Linked DNA regions of Homo sapiens: all the other regions are linked to region 1. The links are contacts of gene promoters, found by promoter capture Hi-C in blood cells and fetal thymus (Javierre and others, 2016). All regions are on one chromosome and are shown on one strand. Each heading gives the region's core, a stretch centred on a gene start or on the middle of the fragment in contact. The rest is flanking DNA. Distances are from core to core; before and after follow the strand shown. Region 1 holds the start of CISH (cytokine inducible SH2 containing protein). Region 2 overlaps DOCK3 (dedicator of cytokinesis 3). Region 3 overlaps DOCK3 (dedicator of cytokinesis 3). Region 4 overlaps DOCK3 (dedicator of cytokinesis 3). Region 5 overlaps DOCK3 (dedicator of cytokinesis 3).

Region 1 (2,700 bases), core at 166-2,665:
TGGTGAGTGTGTACCTGGGCAGGGGTGTGTCCATGGCTGTGTCATCATCATGGTGGGGACAGTGGCTGGTGTGTTCTAGGTACATGTGTGTGCCCGCTTTGGAGCGCAGCAGTCTAAAACTTTGTTCCCTGACACCCAACAGTAGCCCTGAGCTTACAAGGGGGTGCTCACCTAGGGTAAAAAGTGAAAGAGGCTATGGGACCCCGGAATGCAGGGGGAGGCTCCTGGGGTGGAAGGCAGTGGTGGGGCAGGTATTCAGGAGTCCCAGAATGCAGACAGGAGGAAGGAACTTGCTGGAGACAGCAAGGGAGAAGTAGTCTTCCCAGCACCTCCATGTCCTCTTCCTTGGCCTCACCTTCCACCCTCCCTCACTTGGCACCAGGCCAGTTGCGATAAGCACAGCCACCCAGTCCTCCCTGAGTGCAGAACACCCATTTATACCTTCTTCCTCTCTCCTTGGAGCTTCCTGAGCTCCTGTCACATCACCATGGCCAGCATCAGACCCTTTGGTTGAAGGGGTTGCTGAGGTTCAGGACAGAGTGGATGGCCAGGAATGCTCAGCTCAGGTCAAGACTCTGTCTTATCAGCATCCCCTCTCCACTGTCCCTTACCTCAAGTCTGGGAAATTTGAAGATGAGAGGCAGGAGCCAAGGTCCTTCTCACATTGGGATCCCAGACTGGGCTGAGACAGGGTTGTGAGACGATTGTGGGGGTACCCCAAGCAGGACCAGGCCAAACCCAGGGCCTCCCGAGAGTTGCAGACCATCAGGTGCCAGCCTGAGGAAAGGCAAGGATCTGCGGCTGGCTTCCCAAGAAGAGCCTACTTGCTAGCCTGGGGCAGGAGAGGGGACACCAGGACAGAGGGGGCCAGGGGCTGGTCCAAGGTTACTAGCAGGCAGGGCAGCAGGCAGGCTAGCGTAGAGTGCTCTGGGCCCAGAAGAATATCTGGGATTGTTGGCCACATCTTGGGGGACGCCGTGCCGTTAGCATCCATCTGCTCCAATGAGAACCCAGGCTGAGCCCACCCTGTGAGTTCCTCCTTTAGCCGGCCAGCCCCCGGTTTCCCAATCCACAGTGGGAATTGAGGTAAGTGTGTGGGGGCGGGGAGTGGGAGTGTCACAGCCCCACACAGAGCCTTGCTCCTGAGGTCCGTCTGCGCTCAGTCACCTCTGGCCCGTCAAGCCCTCCCAATGCCCGGCAGCTAGCACGAAGCCCCTGTTCTCCCGTGCGCCCCTCGTGGTGGCCGGGAAGGGGGCAGAGAGCCGCGCTTACCCCTGAACGCAGAGGACCATGTCCCCGCGGCAGCGGCGACTCCGGAGTGGGGACTCGGCTGGACGGCGGCGGCTGGAGGGAACCAGTGGGCGCGGAGCGCGTGCTGGGTAGGCTCCCGGGGCGCGCGGGCGCAGGACAGGGACTGAGAGGCAGTGGCGCGGACCGCCTGCGAGGGCGAGGGGGGCGGGCCAGACGAGCGGGGCGGGGCGAGCTGCTGCCTAATCCTTTGTCTGCCGCGTTCCAGCCCTTCCCGGAAGCAGCGTCTTCCTAGAACCGCGGGCTGAGCGGTGGGGCCCGGGCGGGGTGCGCGGGCCCCGTCGCCGGGTCTGGGGCCCTGAGCAGTGAAAGGAAATACTTTGACAGATTTCCAAGAACTTTCCAGGAAAACGGGGCGGGGCCCCGCGAGCTGACCAATCGCGACGCTGAAGGTGGAGCCGAGCGGTCGGGGAGGGCCAATAGCAGCGCGTGGACCCGGGGCTGAAGCTACCCAGAGGGGCAGGTCGGAGAGATCAGTGGGGAAAGACCGGGTCGGGGAAGTTAAGGAGGGGCCCGGGCTCAGCAACCCGCGCCCAGATTGCCTTCTGGCATTCTGCGTCGTTGGGGAAGGGCCCTCTTATCTCGCGGTGGAACTCGTGGCAGGGCGGGGGGCGGAGTCCCGGGCTTGTCCTCCCTGCGAGCGGCTCCTCCAAGGAGGTCTGTCGGCGTGTGCAAGCGCCCCGTGTTGGGACGGCCGCTCCTGGACCCTAGGACTCTGTGTGTCGGGTGTCGGATTGGGTGGCATGGGGTGAGATCTGGAGCGGGACTTAGGGCAGGGCGGGGTGCAGAGGACAGTTCCAGAAATGAGTGGGTCCACTGAGGTCAAGCCGGCGGTCACCACAGCCAGAAAGATCCAGACAAGAACGTTTTCTTTGAAAGAGTTGAAGGAGAAAGCACGCCCCAACTTTTCGAATCAGGCAGACCATCCAGTCTTGGCTGGCACTGGTTTCTGGCCGGCCCTGCCAGTCAGGGGAGAAGAGACTACAGATTTGAGAAAGCAAGCAGAGACAGCCCCAGATGGCCCGGACTCTGGGTTGGTACCACCCCCACCCCCCGCCAGAAAAAAAATGCTGAGAGAGAGTCCTGCAACTCAAAACATAGGGAGATAATCTGGGAGTAGGGTGATAGAGGTTGGGGCGGGATGGCGGGGGCAGAGTAGTAACACTCGCTCTTATCTACAGGGAGTACTTGCTGCATTTGATCCTCTACAACTGGTGTTGCTCCCGTTATGCGGACAGAAGACAGCCCCAGGGAACAAATGCTAGGAAATGGCAGGGTAAGAGCTTGGTCCCAGCTCTGAATCAGAAGCCCACGCTCCTACCAGGACCCTCTCCACCTTTTTTCAGTTCACTGGATTCACTATGGAGCATCTTGAAGGACTGTAGGGTCTGT
Region 2 (2,700 bases), core at 48-2,547, 630 kb after region 1:
GTTTGGCTGGATATGAAATTATTTATTGGAATTTCTTTTCTTTAAGAATGTTGAATATTGGCCCCCAGTCTCTTCTTGCTTGTTTCTACTGAGAGATCCACTTTTAGTCTCATGAGCTTCCCTTTGTAGGTGACCTGATCCTTCTCTCTAAATGCCTTTAACATTTTTTCTTTCATTTTGACCTTGGAGAATCTGATGAATATGTGTCTTGGAGATGATCTTCTTGTGAAGTATTTTACTGGGGTTCTCCGCATTTCCTGAATTTGAATGTTGCCCTTTCTAGCTAGGTTGGGGAAGTCTTCATGGATGATATCCTGAAATATGTTTTCTAAGTTGGTTCCATTCTCCCCGTCTATTTTAAGGACACCAGTGAGTTGTAGATTTGGTCTCTTTACATAATCCCATATTCCTCGGAGGTTTTGTTCATTCATTTTCATTCTTTTTTCTCTGTTCTTGTCTGACTGTCATATTTCAGAAGGCCAGTCTTCAAGCTCTGAGATTCTTTCCCGAACTTGGTCTATTCTGCTGTTAATACTTGCAATTGCATTCTGAAATTCCTGTAGAGTGTTTTTCAGCTCTGTCAGGTCAGTTACATTCTTTTCTATACTAACTATTTTGTCTGTCAGCTCCTGCATTGTTTTATCATGATTTTTAGCTTCCTTGGATTAGCTTTCAGTGTACTCCTGTAGCTCAATGATCATCATTCCTATCCATATTCTGAATTCTATTTCTGTCATTTCAGCCCTCTCAGCCCAGTTCAGAACCCTTGCTGGAGAGGTGATGCAGTCATTTGGAGGAAAGAAGGCTTTTTGAGTTGCCAGGGTCCTTGTGCTGGTTCTTTTTCATCTTTGTGGGCTTGTCACTCTTCAGTCTTCGAGGTTGCTGTCCTTTGGATGGTTTTTTTTTTCCCTTTTATCCTGTTTGATGACCTTGAATGTTTGATTATGGTATAAAGTGGATTCAGCCAGCTGGATTCATTTCTGGAACATTTTAGGGGACAGTGCTCAGCTCTCAACTCCTGGACTGTGCACTCTAACACAACTTGGGGACTGGTATTGGGCCCCAGCTTTGTTCTCTGGCTCCTTAAGGTTAGGAATCCACTGTACTGGGTAGGCCGAGATGCTCCCAGACTGCTGGCCATTCCACTTTGGCTGGGTGGTATAAGCCAAAGTGGTTCATAGTGCAGTGACAGCTGGATCTATCCCTGTTCACATGTGCCAGCAGCAGTGGGTACAGCAGCTGTGGCAGAGTCACCTGTGGCAGAGTGCTAGCAGATGCCAGTGTCAGGGTACCTGCCTCCCTGCAGGCATTGACCAAGGTGGCAGAGGCAACATGGCTGGGCAGAGCTGGGGCCCCTACTGGCAACTTTTGTGCAGTCACGGTAGAGATGGTGATGGCTCAGGGTTGGGACACTGAAGGTCTGGGTGCCTCCTCTGTGTCCTGCAAGCAGAAGTAGTCACTCAGGATAGGGGAGGATCTGCTATTCTCTGCACAGTGTTAGAGCAAGGGTGGGGCACTGACAAGGACGGGGCTGGCTGGCTCTGTGCCCACCAAGGCTCCATCTGCAATGGTGGTGGGAGCAGGGGACAGGCTGCACTCTTACATGCTAGCCCACTTTTTAATGGAAAAAGGAAAGCAAAACCTGCCAGTACAGACACAAGCCAGTAAAGCATTGTGGAGAGTTGCAGTGGGTCCTGGGGAAGCTGCAGTATGGGGAGGGGGCATGCAGGCTAGTGCGTGGCATAGGGTCGCACCAGTGGAGCTCTCCCCCATCAAGCATGGTCTGTGTAGAAGCTATGACATGGGGCCCCCAGGTCACCTGAGGCTGCCCTGCAAGCAGGTATGGCCAGACTTGGGCCCTAGGAGAGGCCAGCCAACCAAGGGGTGCTCAGGATAGACCAGCCCCATCTGATGGGCAAGACCGCCCTGCAGAGTTCAGGACCAACAGTTCCCCTAGGACTGAAGTCTCCCACGGGAGCAAGTCAAGCCTAGGGGGATGGCCATCCCTGGCTGTGCACCACTACAGACACTCCCATACCAAACCCCCTGGGCTCCACATCATCTGGTTTGCTACCCCTACCACTTCTCTAAGCAGCTCTCCCTGCCAACTCAAGTATCTGTGGTGGTTGAGGGCTCTCCTTCTGCCAGGGTTCCAGAGGCCATTAGTAAGAGCAAGTTGCTTCTTAATAGTTCACTCACCTTTCCTCCAGAGCCATCGAGGGCCAGGCTATTTTCTGGGTTTTTTTTTTTATAGTGGCCACCCTAATGGGTGTAAAGTGATATTTCTTTATGTTTTTTATTTGTGTTTCCCTAATTATCTTCCTTTGAGAAATGTGTATTCAAGTCCTTCACCCATTTTTTAAAAAGAGGTTATTTGTTTTATTGTTGAGTTATAGGAGTTCTTTATATATTCTGGATATTAACCCCTTATCAGTTATATGATTTATAAATATTTTTCCCAGTCACTTGGTTGCCTTTTCACTCTGTTGATTGTGTCCTTTGAGACACAGAAGTTTTTAAAGTTTTGATGTAGTCCACCTTATTTTTTGTTGTTGCCTGTGCTTTTGGTGTCATTTTCAAGAAATCATTGCCTAATATGAAGCTTTCACCTATCTTTTCTTTTAAGTGTTTTATAATTCTAGCCCTTAGATTTAGGTCTTTGATCCACTTTGAGTTAATTTTTGTATATTGTATAAGATA
Region 3 (2,700 bases), core at 159-2,658, 700 kb after region 1:
GTTCTCAGCTGGGTGGTTTCCCAGGGGCCCAAGTGTGGGAGTTCAGTCGAGAGCCCAAAGGCTTAGCGCATTGGGAAGCATTAGAAACAAACAGTGCTGAAGTCCTGGCCTCATGGGTTTGCAGCCCTATCCTCCTGAACCTTCTCCCACTAACGGTTGGCTCCTGTGTTACTATTCTTAGGTATGGGGACATGCGTGTAATGATGGCCTATGAACTGTTCAGCATGTGGCAGAATTTGGGTAGGTTTTTTCTCCCTATTCTTCCCTTCTATATATTGCATAGCCAAATAGAAAGTAGCAAGACTAATAACATCTCCCAGGCTTTATGAATGTTAATTCAGGCCCAAGAGATCCTTACATATCTTTCACATAACACCTCAGATGGATGGTGTAGCACATGTGCATAAAGCCCTTGGCAAGGAGAGTTTGTCTGAGAAATAAGACCTCAGTAATACATATGCCAAATCCCTTTTTTTAGGAACTAAAGTCAAAAGAAAAAAAAGAAAAGGAGGGCTGTAGTAGTTTTTTCCAATTTGAGAACCCATTCCTATAAGATCCTCCATGCTCTTCACTTCCCAGTCTGGATGTTGCAGGCTCAAAAGCTTAGATCTGAGATACCCAGTACATGAGCAAAGGTGGCTATTAATTTTAATAAAGATTGAAACATTTATTGGATCTCTGGTATTCATGCATCCAGATCAGATACTTGACACCAGTTGCATGGAGTAACATATAAGAAGAGAACTGCAACCTCTGGGTGAGATCAGTTTTGGCTTCCCTTCTTTGCACAGCTTCTGCTTTGAATGCTTTGAAAATAGCCACTGCTTTGAATCTAAATTTGTCAGATCAGTGTTTTTGGTAGAATTTCTGGGTTGCCCTGGTGACTGAGTGGGCCATCCTGTGATATTGTAGAGTTCTGAGTGGCCTGTCAAGATGCTGGAGAACTATTATTATTTCAAGTGAAGTCTGCTTTCAGCTGAGCTCATGGTTCTGAAGCTGTAGGAATGATGGTCATAAAATCTCCAGTCCTCTGTTAACCATCCCCACCACTAACCTAGAGGCAGCAAGTAGGATATGAAGTATTTCTGCCGGCGAGAGGGCCTTCTATTCATGAGTGGGGATGCATTTCCCCAATCAGACTTTCCAACACTCTGGTTCCCTGTATCCAGCACAGTTTGGAAATGGATTTTAACCCAAAGTTGACTCTGAAATTCCCAGGAATGCAAGAGACTGGCTACTGTGCCAAGTACCAAAATTGGAATATGCTGAACCAGCCTCAGGGCTAAACATTTGCTTCTTAGAATTTTTTTTAATACCAGATTTGCCTGATAAAGCCTTTTCTGCCTCATTTCTTTTGGTGGAAATGACATTCTCTGGTCCCCAAGAAATGGTTTTACTTGGCCGTAGCATTCATTGCACAGACCCACAGTTTATCTCCTCAATAGTCTCTGAAGGACTGAGAGCAGAGCTCTGAAAGATGGTTCACTCTGTTTTACCATTGCAAGGAAGAGAAAAATCCTATCCCACCATCCACAGGACTGTCTCTGGCTTCTGGTAACATACCCTAGATGGCACGCCAATGAGAGGGAAACCCACATCACACACTTACCATGGAAATGCTTCATTAAGGAAGTTGAGGGTTGAGCTGAGCCAAGTAGGTGTAATGGCACCATCAGAAATGCAATATGAACACAAAGGGAGTTCAGGGTGGGTAAAGAGAGAATCTCTAAGCCAGCCTTTTAGGGTAGGGCTGTGCAGGAGACTCCTGCTAGCTCAGGAGGAGGACTTCTTTGGCATACATGAACATAGGCAGTGTAAAAATCCATGGACTTATTAGACGTCTGGTGGCTAGACCAGGGACTGGATATCCTCATCACTTAAATGTCTCTGGGCTAGAGCTAGAAACTCCAAGGAGAGTGCATTGTATTTAAGCAGAAATATTGGGTTTTTCTTGTTAAATAAACACTGTGAATAGACCATCTGACACTCATAGGTTACTCAGAAACCTATTCTGTCTAGAGTAGCAAACTCTGTTCCTTCATCTCAGAGAGATTTTCAGGTAGTTTGTGGGACTGTCAGGAAATTCTTTGGAAAAGCAGTTTTGTGACAGTTGCGCATTTGCTTTCACTGGGCTAGGCCAACTTTATCCATAAACTCTAAAAAGTTGAGGGAGAGTACCTCAGAAAACCATAGGGGAGAGCTTGTTTTGCTCTCAGAAGCTTCCAGTATGGATTGTAGCATGTGTTGTGGCCCCATTTGGGAATCTTCCATGGAAGGAGCAAAGCAGGCATAAACTAATTTGGGTTTTGTTTTTCAGGTGAACATAAGATCCACTTTATTCCGGGAATGATTGGTCCTTTTCTGGGTGTGACACTGGTCCCACAGCCAGAAGTACGGAATATCATGATTCCCATCTTTCATGACATGATGGACTGGGAGCAGAGAAAAAATGGCAACTTCAAACAGGTAAGACACCTGGCAGTGTTCGGGGTATTCTCTGGAATGGATCCCTTCTGCTTAGGCAGGTGGCCTAGATGACCAAGCCATGATTCTAGTGGGGATGGGCTGTAGTTTGGCTAATTTGAATCCTGTTCAAGGGTTTTCCCTTACTTGCTGGCCAAAATTGATTTGTGGATTTTCTCCATGAAGTTAGAGGCCAGAAAATAATGAGGCCAGGAAAGAATGAACATCACTATAACT
Region 4 (2,700 bases), core at 3-2,502, 670 kb after region 1:
CAGTGAGCCAAGATCATGCCATTGCGCTCCAGACTGGGTGATAAGAGCAAAACTCCATCCCAAAAAACAACAATAATAATAATTTCAGAGACCTAGAAAGGGTTTGAGAGACTAAAACCTGTTGTCACTTTCTCATGAGTTTATAAACATTTGAAAATTGCCCAAGTGAAGTAAATGTTCTCCCTCCCTTTTAAGGAGGCAACTAAGAGGAGGCCATGCTTGACTGCCTCCTGCCAAAAGTTGCTGTAAGATGGTTTTTGAAGTCCTTAAAGCAGGATTTTATTCCATGTATTCCAATTGGAACTTGAAGACATTTTGAACATTGATATTTCTCCTTTAATTTCTACTTGTCTTAAAGCCCATAGCTTGTCCCCTCAAAAAGGTCAGTTTTAACTCCTCTGCCTTTCAGACAGGCATATTGATCTGCGCTGTGTTTTGTTTGCCCAGTCCAGTAACCCTGTGCAAATTCTAGGAGGTTCCAAAGAAGTCCTTGTAGAAGGGCTGCTCTAGTCCAGCAGGATCGGCAGAGTCCAAATTCTGTCCAGAGAGGGTTAAGCTCTCCCCTTTTCCAAGTATCCTCTATAGACTTCAGTACAGTGCCCTGGCAGCAAAGGACTATTTAGCCAAAACTTTCCTAGGAAAAAAAGGGAGAATATTTGTCTCACTTTGCAGTACTACTTTATTATAGTTTAAGGTTTTTCAGTAGCCCCATGCTGCAGAGGGTTTATTTCCCCCTAATCCCTCCAGGCTTTCCTTAGCAGAAAATAAAGCTTTAGAGGGCTAGATTTGTCATCTTTCTTCCATGATCATTGGGGCCATCTCAGACCCTCCCTTCTCTCCTTGCCCTCTATGGATTGGGGGAACACAGCCCTTGCAATTGGCCATGCTAAGTGTTTTTTTGGGTTGGTCCCTAGGGCGAGTATGTGTCCTGCCTTCTCTCACTGCTCCGCCAGATGTGTGACACCCATTTCCAGCACCTCCTGGACAACTTCCAGAGCAAAGATGAACTCAAGGTAGGCAGTAGAACACCTTTCCTCTGGGAGAGGAAGTGTGCAGCCAGCACTCCCCAGGGGCTTTTTCCCTGTCAGGGGGATGAATGCAAGTGACTAGCATTGCCACGGGTGTAGGATTCACCAGCCCTGCTTTACAGCTGAGTGTTGGCCTCCAGAAGCTGAAAGCCAGCAGTGTCCCCACACAGCTGGACCCTCGTAACACTGCCAAGTTTTCCTTGACTATTAGCGGCCCTGTGATCATGTGCCTCTATTAGAGGCTACTCTGTCCCACACTGGTTGTCAGACAACCAGGACTCCTTCCTTTCTTAGTAACTTGGCAGTTACCCTTATATTTTGTACCTGCAAATTAGGATTTGCTGTTTTAATACCTTTAATAATAATAATGGTGTCAATTTTTTTCATTTAAATATATTTGTGGAAGATACCTTTAGAGAGCAAGGGTGTGCACTGCTCATTTGCTGCCAAACTCTGGGTCTGGAGCACTGAGGGTCTTATTTTTATCACAGATTGCTATACATAATTTAAAAAGCCAAAGCATACTACAAAGTTCATAATATAAAACACCTGTAGTCCTAGCTACTCTTGAGGCTAAAGTGAGAGGATCGATTGAGCCCAGAAATAATTTTTTTAAAAAATACAGTGGTTTCCTGGCTCAGCCTGACTCGTGTCCAGTCCCTACTCCACAAAGGCAGCCACTTTCAATTCTTTTGCTATTCTTCAGGAAGCTTCTACTACTATTTTTAGCTATTGTTAGTTATTATCTATTTTCCTCTTTCTATGGAAAATGAAGATGATTCTCCAGAATCATTCCTCTCTCACACACACATCCTTCCTCCCATTTTCCCAATGTAGTTTTCATATATTTTTGTTTGCATTGATTATATTGTTTATCTTTTCTTTATTACAGCTAAATAAGTACTGTGGTGAGCCAAGACTGTCCTGGGATTATATTTCTTTTCTTGTAGAACAGTGATGTCCAGTCTTTCGGCTTCCCTAGGCCACATTGGAAGAAGAATTGTCTTGGGCCACACATTAAATACACTAACACTAACGATAGCTGATGAGCTAAAATATATATATATATATATATATATATATATATCTCATAATATTTTAAGGAAGTTTACAAATCTGTGTTGGGCTGCATTCAAAGCCATCCTGGGCTGCATATGGCCCATGGGCCGTGGGTTAGACAAGCTTGTTGTCGAACTTATTGTTTTTATAAAAATTAATTGCCTCTTTTTTTATTTGCTTATGCTTTGTTTTGTTTTGGTCATCAAATCTGGTGAGGATTTCCCACTCTTGCTATCATCTTTCTAATATATCTCTTCTTCCAGCTTGCCTTATGGTCAAATCTATCAGATGTCAGGTCACTTTTTTTTCCTAGAGATTTGCTCCCCCACTGCTTTTATTTGTTTCAGTCACTATCTTTTGTGTTGGAGACTCTCCTCCTACAGACTTTCCTATAGAGACTCCTGGATGATAGTGTGTATCTAAAAGTGAAGTCCTTCAGTGCTGATTACAAACTCTATGTATAGGCAGGGCTTTCTCTAGCAGGCTTCCCTGTAGATGGCCAAAGAGATCTGCCCTTTTGGTCAGAGCATTCCCCAATTCCTGTGTCTGGAGGACTTGGACTTGTTCATTCCCCAGAGAGGAGTCTTCCACTTCTCCTGTGTTGGGCACAGGA
Region 5 (2,700 bases), core at 147-2,646, 650 kb after region 1:
AGTTCACCAGGCTGGAGTGCGGTGGCGTGATCTCGGCTCACTGCAAGCTCCACCTCCTGGGTTCACGCCATTCTCGTGCCTCAGCCTCCCGAGTACATCCTGGCTTTTTAGGCTGCTCCAAGAAGTTCTGTTCTATCCTTTACCTATAGGGATTCTAGTCCCTACCTATAAGGATTCCAGGGTGTCAGTTCTGACCTTGTCCCTCTTTTGTCCTCTGCTGAGCCCAGCAAGCCATCATCTTAATCATACAAAACCAAAATACCTAAAGGGGAAGGTCAGACCTGCTACCTAGCCATTTAGTTTGGAAAATGCAAACATTTATTTTCTTTGTTCCGATAGAAAATACCTCCTACTTCAGTGACTTCAAACTGGCATAAGCTAATAAATGAAGCTAGCTCAGAAGTGTATACTTTCTGCTTCATGGGCCTGAAGAGTCACCACAATATAGACATACTAGAGCAGTGGCAGAGTCCAGCCTGCAAGTGTCTGGGTTTAGAAACTAACAGATATTTCAAGTTCTTTATAGACTAGGCATTAAAAAGCTACTAGAACAGAGGGTGTAGCATTTATGGAGATGAGGCCGCACACTAAATCCTTCTACAGAATCATCTGGTACAAGCCCTGTAAGACACATTTTTCTAAACTGGCATTCCCCAGTGCCAACTGAATTTTGTATGGGCCACAAAATATTAAGTTCTGCTTTTCCAAACCATCTAACAGCTGGATAGATCATGAAAGGTAGTTTGGGAATTGTTTCCTGTTTTATATTTCAAGTACCTGACTTCTGTTTGTTTCAGCCTTGCATAAGTTTCTCTCCATTATTTCTGGCTTTTCAGTGTCTGGGAAATCTGTGGCATTTTTTTTTTATTAGAAAACATAGTATTGGGTCTTGAATTTGTTCTCTTAAAAGAAAATTACTCTGTAAGCATGGGCCAAGCGTCAGGAACTCCTCAGAATCAGATTCTGCTCCCAAACATTTTTGCAGAAGCTTCATCTTGTACCATTTATGAACTGCTTATAGCAGATGTCTTGGTGGGAAGAGGGTGGATACTGGATGTATCAGGCCTATCAGCTGCTGTGCAGCCTGGGACAGGTTTTCTTCAGATTTCTGTGACCCCTGGTGAAAAAGGAGGAACTGTGTCAGGCCCCAGCTATATCTTAAAGATGTAGGAGACTCCTAAGTCTGAGGATTCCTCAGTCCTTTAGGACACTTCCTTCTTGCAGTAAACTTGAGTCTTTCTTACATCCTTGCCTTGTGACCCTTTTATTTCCAGACCTGAAAAAAAATACAGAGAAACTTATTTTTTAAACTCTGAGTGGTCTTGAATTCAACTATTTCTATAACAGTCTATGGCTCCTTAATTCCAGAACCTCAGAAAACAGTTGTGAAATTATTTGATGATTCTTTCAGTAAGAAGGTAGCTGCTGCTTAGTGACAATTTGGATATTTGAGAAAAAATTTTTAAAAATAAAGTACCTATCTATCTCCATAGTTAGAATTGCCCAACACCTGATTTTGGTATAGAAACTGCTGTTACTTTGCCCCTTGTTTCCTGCTATGTGAGTTCCTGAGCATCTTCAACATCTCTCCATCACTTTTTCTCCCACACTTTTCAGGCCTTGGAGTACCTTTTCAAGTTCATTGTACAGTCACGGATCCTGTACTCACGAGCCACTTGTGGAATGGAAGAGGAACAATTCAGATCCAGTATCCAAGAACTTTTCCAGTCCATCCGGTTTGTGCTCAGTCTGGACAGCCGAAACTCAGAAACACTCCTTTTTACTCAGGTTCGCACACTGCAGGGAAGCTTTGATGCTGGGTTCCTCTTTCTCAGTGGGTGGTTTCTTTGTCCTCTGGTTTTCAGAGATGAAGAAGCCCTGCCAGGATCATGTGTGTTGGGTAAGGGATTATTTACAAGGAAATACCTGATACAACAAAATGCTGCTTTTACTGCAAATCTGGCTGTGCCTCAGCTGCCAGATGTAAAACAGCTCAGTGGCTTTATGTTGGAGAAGAAGCACAAATTTGTTCTGTGAACAGTCTTTAGACCAAGTTTATTTAGCTACCATACTACTTAGTTTTTTATGAACACCTTATTCATAGGAGATATTGAGAATGTATGGGGAATTTTATTTCCAGATTAATCATTGTATTAATGAAAATTGAGCACAGTGGCTCACACCTGTAATCCTAGCACTTTGGGAGGCCAAGGTGGGCGGATTGCTTGAGCTCAGGAGTTCAAGACCAGCCTGGGCAACATGATGAAACCCCATCTCTACTAAAAATACAAAAAAATTAGCTGGGTGTGCTAGCATGCACCTGTAGTCCCAGCTACTCAGGAGGCTGAGGCAGGAGAATTGCTTGAACCCGGGAGGCAGAGGTTGCAGTGAGCCAAGATCGCACCACTGCACTCCAGCCTGGGCAACAGACTGAGACTCTGTCTCCAAAAAGAAAAAGAAAAAAAAAGAAAATTTAGATTAGCTTTTATCCATTCCAGAAGTTGAATGAAATAATTTGAAAAACAGTAGGAGTAACTAGGAATCTTTGGCTAAGAATTAAGATTAAATTAGGATCAGAGGGCTGGCAAGATGGCCAAATAGGAACAGCTCCGGACTGCAGCTCCCAGCGAGATCAACACAAAAGGCAGGTGATTTCTGCATTTCCAACTGAGGTACCCGGCTCATCTCATTGGGACTGGC

Evidence for each region. The method cuts DNA at HindIII sites, captures the fragments that hold promoters and counts their contacts. A CHiCAGO score of 5 or more calls a contact.
Region 2: a contact is called between a fragment that was not itself captured here and the fragment with the promoter of CISH in region 1, in 1 of 17 cell types (neutrophils). The highest score is 6.7, in neutrophils.
Region 3: a contact is called between a fragment that was not itself captured here and the fragment with the promoter of CISH in region 1, in 10 of 17 cell types (activated CD4 T cells, total CD8 T cells, total CD4 T cells and 7 more). The highest score is 11.9, in activated CD4 T cells.
Region 4: a fragment that was not itself captured here is called in contact with the fragment with the promoter of CISH in region 1 in 2 of 17 cell types (naive CD4 T cells and naive CD8 T cells); the score reaches 6.0 in naive CD4 T cells.
Region 5: a fragment that was not itself captured here is called in contact with the fragment with the promoter of CISH in region 1 in 1 of 17 cell types (neutrophils); the score reaches 5.2 in neutrophils.

What each region holds. Positions count from the first base shown.
Region 1 is chr3:50,610,359-50,613,058 of GRCh38, forward strand. It overlaps CISH (cytokine inducible SH2 containing protein), which reads right to left and starts at 1,416. Exons shown (of 3, transcript NM_145071.4): 1 at 1,273-1,416. The coding sequence starts at 1,292. It also overlaps a transcript of MAPKAPK3 not described here. RefSeq lists enhancers at 375-935, 1,845-1,934 and a silencer at 1,285-1,764. The HindIII fragment of the contact is 4,554 bases long and covers 1-2,700 here.
Region 2 is chr3:51,241,190-51,243,889 of GRCh38, forward strand. The region is part of intron 21 of DOCK3 (dedicator of cytokinesis 3); the gene reads left to right. Among named protein-coding and RNA genes, the nearest start is that of MANF, 140 kb to the right of the region's middle. The HindIII fragment of the contact is 2,606 bases long and covers 1-2,600 here.
Region 3 is chr3:51,312,663-51,315,362 of GRCh38, forward strand. DOCK3 (dedicator of cytokinesis 3) reads left to right here. Exons shown (of 53, transcript NM_004947.5): 31 at 182-240; 32 at 2,318-2,466. Among named protein-coding and RNA genes, the nearest start is that of MANF, 71 kb to the right of the region's middle. The HindIII fragment of the contact is 1,617 bases long and covers 601-2,217 here.
Region 4 is chr3:51,279,192-51,281,891 of GRCh38, forward strand. It overlaps DOCK3 (dedicator of cytokinesis 3), which reads left to right. Exons shown (of 53, transcript NM_004947.5): 27 at 915-1,013. Among named protein-coding and RNA genes, the nearest start is that of MANF, 100 kb to the right of the region's middle. The HindIII fragment of the contact is 968 bases long and covers 769-1,736 here.
Region 5 is chr3:51,258,539-51,261,238 of GRCh38, forward strand. It overlaps DOCK3 (dedicator of cytokinesis 3), which reads left to right. Exons shown (of 53, transcript NM_004947.5): 23 at 1,618-1,788. Among named protein-coding and RNA genes, the nearest start is that of MANF, 130 kb to the right of the region's middle. The HindIII fragment of the contact is 820 bases long and covers 987-1,806 here.